Regions from separate parts of the Homo sapiens genome. Here region 1 is linked to region 2. Evidence: promoter capture Hi-C in 16 types of primary human blood cells and fetal thymus (Javierre and others, 2016). All regions are on one chromosome and are shown on one strand. The core of a region is centred on a gene start or on the middle of the fragment in contact, and the rest is flanking DNA. Distances in the headings are between cores, read along the strand shown.

The links. The method cuts DNA at HindIII sites, captures the fragments that hold promoters and counts their contacts. A CHiCAGO score of 5 or more calls a contact.
Region 1: a contact is called between a fragment that was not itself captured here and the fragment with the promoter of F3 in region 2, in 4 of 17 cell types (M1 macrophages, M2 macrophages, monocytes and 1 more). The highest score is 6.8, in M1 macrophages.

What each region holds. Positions count from the first base shown.
Region 1 is chr1:94,633,937-94,636,636 of GRCh38, reverse strand. The region is part of intron 4 of SLC44A3-AS1 (SLC44A3 antisense RNA 1); the gene reads left to right. It overlaps LOC105378861 (a long non-coding RNA gene), which reads right to left. Exons shown (of 3, transcript XR_001738160.3): 2 at 756-846. Among named protein-coding and RNA genes, the nearest start is that of MIR12133, 92 kb to the right of the region's middle. The HindIII fragment of the contact is 1,100 bases long and covers 753-1,852 here.
Region 2 is chr1:94,540,494-94,543,193 of GRCh38, reverse strand. F3 (coagulation factor III, tissue factor) reads left to right here and starts at 1,435. Exons shown (of 6, transcript NM_001993.5): 1 at 1,435-1,657. The coding sequence starts at 1,558. It overlaps LOC124904223 (a long non-coding RNA gene), which reads right to left and starts at 1,220. Exons shown (of 2, transcript XR_007066234.1): 1 at 1-1,220. RefSeq lists a silencer at 1,236-1,515. The HindIII fragment of the contact is 2,211 bases long and covers 492-2,700 here.

The DNA.
Region 1 (2,700 bases), core at 53-2,552, 94 kb before region 2:
TTCCCTGGAAATAAGATCACAAATCTAGGGGGAATCCTGCTTATGGATATTCTGGGTGATTCCAAAACCTTAGTTATTGGAAACTCTGATTCCAAACTTGAATGTTTCTTTTCCATGCATGCTCTCTCATCCTGTGGGCAAGAATCATGATGAATTTACTGTTTTTAGAGCTTATTACTACTCTAATGTCAAGCCAAGGTATATTTAAAAAAAAAAAAAAAAAGGTTTGCCATCACTCATGTGATATTCTGTTCTGTCAGGGACTTCTGTCAAACCATGATTGTTGGAACAGCTTTGCCTCTCTGGAAAGCAGCTTGCTAGAGAGACTTGCGGTAGAGAGGGAGGGTCATGGCCAGATGCCGAAAGCAACATTTACATATTTAGTGAAGGCCCAGGCTTTACTCCTTAGTAGCTATGTGATTTTGGATAAGTTACCTAATTTCTGTGAACCTCTATGTCTTCCTCTGAGAAACAATGATAAGGACACTTACCTCAAAAGGCTGACTTGAAGCACAAGCAAACAGTGGACATGAGAATACTTGGTAAACTATGAAGTGACCCACAAAGAAGGGTATTGTCATTTTACCCTTTCCTCTAGTCCTCAGTGGAACTTTCCTTATCTTTTCAAACCTCTTCCCAGACCCCAATCCCATGAGATCCCCTTCCTTCAGCAAGATCTCACTGCATGACGGCAGTGTTGGGAGTCCTCTACCAAAATAATACTCTACCAAAATAATAGTATTCACCAAGCTTACGCTTACGAAGAGCCATCATGGTTATTTCTTGACTTTATGGAATCATTCAGTTTCTGCTGCATGGCAGCTGCAGTGGGAAGCCTGCACAAACCTAGAGAAAATGATTTAGAATCACATAAGAAAGCCTTGTACATCTGTTCGAGGATGGCAAGTAAGCTGTATTTTGCACTCCAGTTCCAAATGATTGGTGTTGGTTCTGTGCAACACTGGTCTGTGAAGGAGCTCAGGCAACTTGTTGGAAGGACAGTGGGGGGCGATTGATTAGTCATGCTGCCATGGATGAGATACAGTAAAGGGGCACTCCTCTACTCCCTTACTCCCTAAATGGGCATTCCATTTACAATACCATCAAAAAGAATAAAATACTCAGGAATAAATTTAACAAAAGAAGTGCAAGACTTGTACACTGAAAATTACAAAATTACAAAATACTCTTGGGATTTAACACACCTCATCTAGTTCCAGCTTCTTATTTTACAAATGAGGAAACAGATATTCAGAGTTGAGGTAAGTCCAGCAAGATCATACAATCAAGGAGCAGCAGGGTTGAATCCAAAATCCAGCCCTCTAGCTTTCCATTTGAGTATTGTTTTCAACATCAACTCTTTTTTCACTCTCTCATAAGGTCTGTAGAGGGCTGATTTTTATGAGACAAGGAGAGATTAGGGACCTGGCTGGTCTGTGTAATGCCTGATACATGGTTCATGATAACCAGCTGCTCCCCGCTCCCAGTCTGGTTTCTGATCTCTCTGCCCCCTCCCAGCGGGACTGCAAACCACAAGCTGTTTCAGCCCCAGCAGGAAGAATGAGGGGGCCTTCCCATACAGAAATCCCCAGTGATGCCCTGGGGGCCTGGACTCCTGTTCCTGTGCCTGAATTCCCTTCTCCCTATAATTTTATTGCCTCCATCGTTCTTATCCCAGTTTGGACAGGCTCGAACTTGTGATGGTTTGCTTTTATTTTTCTCTCAGAGTGATGTTGATATAAAGTGCATTTATTTCTATTTTAAAACAGTCTTCCTAGCTAAACTGATTTATTCTGTGAGAAAAGACAGTCACGTGTGAATGTGACTAGAAGGAAAAAGGGACCAGAAAGCTTTTTTTGTTTTGTTTTATCAAGAGATTAGCTTCAATTTAAAAATAAAATAGAATAAACCTTTGCTCAACTGATACATTTACCTTTTGCTTGGGACGAGGACCTGGCCTAATGCCAGGCTTATCATGCTGGTCATCACCTCCTCCTGAAATGCTCTACATCCTCACCACGCCAAACTCTGTTATTTCTTTATGTGTTTAAAGTCCTCCTTTGACTTGGGGTACAATGAAGAAGATTCGTTTTGTTCAACAGTTATTGAGAATCTACAGTGTGTCTAGCACTGGGCTTGGCACTCAGGATTCAAAAAATGAGTACAGGCTGGGCTCAGTGGCTCACGCCTGTAATCTTAGCACTTTGGAAGGGAGGCCAAAGTGGGCAGATCGCCTGAGGCCAGGAGTTCGAGATCAGCCTGGCCAACATGGTGAAACCCTGTCTGTACTAAAAATACAAAAATTATCTGGGCGTGGCAGTGGGCACCTGTAATCCCACTGAGACTACTTGAGAGGCTGAGGCAGGAGAATCACTTGAACCCAGGAGGCGGAGGTTGCAGTGAGTCAGGATCACGCCATTGCACTCCAGCCTGGGCAATAAAAGTGAAACTGTCACAAACAAACAAACAAACAAACAAAAGAGTACTACAATAAGGCCCCCACCTTTGGGAAAATAACTGAGCGAACACAATGAGCCAGAGGAAAAAAGCTAAGCCTCGCACCCTATTACCTATCTACCTCATTTAGTTCTCATCCTGAAACTACTCTTCTTGTGGTCATGAGCTGTATGTCTTTTGTTCTCCACTCTATCCTCAGCACCAAATGCAGTGCCTGGCACAAGGTGCCCAGGAAAGACTATT
Region 2 (2,700 bases), core at 186-2,685:
GAGGATTGCATGGCTTAGTTTTGCAAACATAAATTTTGTGGGTTTCAGAGCTGGCAGAGAGCTCAAAGAGGAAATCATCAAGGGCAACTTTCTGCTTCGAGGAAGGAAAGTCTACAAGGGCTAAACCTGGATGTGCTATTTCAGTTCAGGCAAAGGAGGAAAATTAAAATTTTGCACAGTTTTATTCTGTTAAAACAAGTGGTTCAGTAAGCTAAACGAGATATGTATATAGTATGCATTAAAATGCAAGACTGACTTCCCTGGGAAAACGTGGGAAAGAAGGAGAGAGGAAACAAACAATTCTTACACTAAGAATTCTCCAGTCGTGTCTTGCAGGCAATATAGAGTAATAATAATAAAAATGACAGGAGATACTTTGACAGGATGGCTTAAAATGCCACTCAATAGATGAAGAGTTGTTCTCATGCTTGGCAAGTTTACAGCAAAGCCCAGAAGGAGAAGCCAGAAAATAATTTAGAAAAACCAAAGCTTAAAACTAGTGGCACACAACTCTGGTTACATTTTTCATTTTCATTTTTGGTTCCTCTGCATTTCGGTGGAACTCAGTCCCACAGATGTCTTCTTCAATGTGGGAACCATCCTTTCTGGAACCACAGAGCTGCAGATGTCACGCTGGAATTCTCCCAGAGGCAAACTGCCAGATGTGAGGCTGCTCTTCCTCAGTCACTATCTCTGGTCGTACCGGGCGATGCCTGAGCCAACTGACCCTCAGACCTGTGAGCCGAGCCGGTCACACCGTGGCTGACACCGGCATTCCCACCGCCTTTCTCCTGTGCGACCCGCTAAGGGCCCCGCGAGGTGGGCAGGCCAGGTATTCTTGACCTTCGTGGGGTAGAAGAAGCCACCGTGGCTGGGAGAGGGCCCTGCTCACAGCCACACGTTTACTTCGCTGCAGGTCCCGAGCTTCTGCCCCAGGTGGGCAAAGCATCCGGGAAATGCCCTCCGCTGCCCGAGGGGAGCCCAGAGCCCGTGCTTTCTATTAAATGTTGTAAATGCCGCCTCTCCCACTTTATCACCAAATGGAAGGGAAGAATTCTTCCAAGGCGCCCTCCCTTTCCTGCCATAGACCTGCAACCCACCTAAGCTGCACGTCGGAGTCGCGGGCCTGGGTGAATCCGGGGGCCTTGGGGGACCCGGGCAACTAGACCCGCCTGCGTCCTCCAGGGCAGCTCCGCGCTCGGTGGCGCGGTTGAATCACTGGGGTGAGTCATCCCTTGCAGGGTCCCGGAGTTTCCTACCGGGAGGAGGCGGGGCAGGGGTGTGGACTCGCCGGGGGCCGCCCACCGCGACGGCAAGTGACCCGGGCCGGGGGCGGGGAGTCGGGAGGAGCGGCGGGGGCGGGCGCCGGGGGCGGGCAGAGGCGCGGGAGAGCGCGCCGCCGGCCCTTTATAGCGCGCGGGGCACCGGCTCCCCAAGACTGCGAGCTCCCCGCACCCCCTCGCACTCCCTCTGGCCGGCCCAGGGCGCCTTCAGCCCAACCTCCCCAGCCCCACGGGCGCCACGGAACCCGCTCGATCTCGCCGCCAACTGGTAGACATGGAGACCCCTGCCTGGCCCCGGGTCCCGCGCCCCGAGACCGCCGTCGCTCGGACGCTCCTGCTCGGCTGGGTCTTCGCCCAGGTGGCCGGCGCTTCAGGTGAGTGGCACCAGCCCCTGGAAGCCCGGGGCGCGCCACACGCAGGAGGGAGGCGACAGTCCTGGCTGGCAGCGGGCTCGCCCTGGTTCCCCGGGGCGCCCATGTTGTCCCCCGCGCCTACGGGACTCGGCTGCGCTCACCCAGCCCGGCTTGAATGAACCGAGTCCGTCGGGCGCCGGCGGGAGTTGCAGGGAGGGAGTTGGCGCCCCAGACCCCGCTGCCCCTTCCGCTGGAGAGTTTTGCTCGGGGTGTCCGAGTAATTGGACTGTTGTTGCATAAGCGGACTTTTAGCTCCCGCTTTAACTCTGGGGAAAGGGCTTCCCAGTGAGTTGCGACCTTCAATATGATAGGACTTGTGCCTGCGTCTGCACGTGTTGGCGTGCAGAGGTTTGGATATTATCTTTCATTATATGTGCATCTTCCCTTAATAAAGAGCGTCCCTGGTCTTTTCCTGGCCATCTTTGTTCTAGGTTTGGGTAGAGGCAATCCAAAAGGGCTGGATTGCTGCTTAGATTGGAGCAGGTACAACGTTGTGCATGCCCCGTATTTCTACGAGGTGTTCGGGACGGCGTAGAGACTGGGACCTGCTGCGTACTGGCAAAGCAGACCTTCATAAGAAATAATCCTGATCCAATACAGCCGACGGTGTGACAGGCCACACGTCCCCGTGGGTCTCTGTGGAAGTTTCAGTGTAGCGACATTTCAGATAAAAGTGGAAAAAGTGAAGTTTGGCTTTTTTCATTTGTATGCAGTCCTAACTCTTGTCACACGTGTGGGATTTATCTTTTTCCATAACTTACTGAAAACCCTTCCTGGCGGGCTGAACCTGACTCTTCCTGAGCTGAGTCCTGGACTGGCACACTGATGGCTCTGGGCTCTTCCCGGTCAAGTTATAACAAGGCTTTGCCCATGAATAATTTCAAACGAAAATGTCAAGATCCTTGCCGGTGTCCTGGGATTACAAGGTGAATCTTGTCATGAAGAAATTCTAGGTCTAGAAAAAATTTGAAGATTCTTTTTCTCTTGATAATTCACTAATGAAG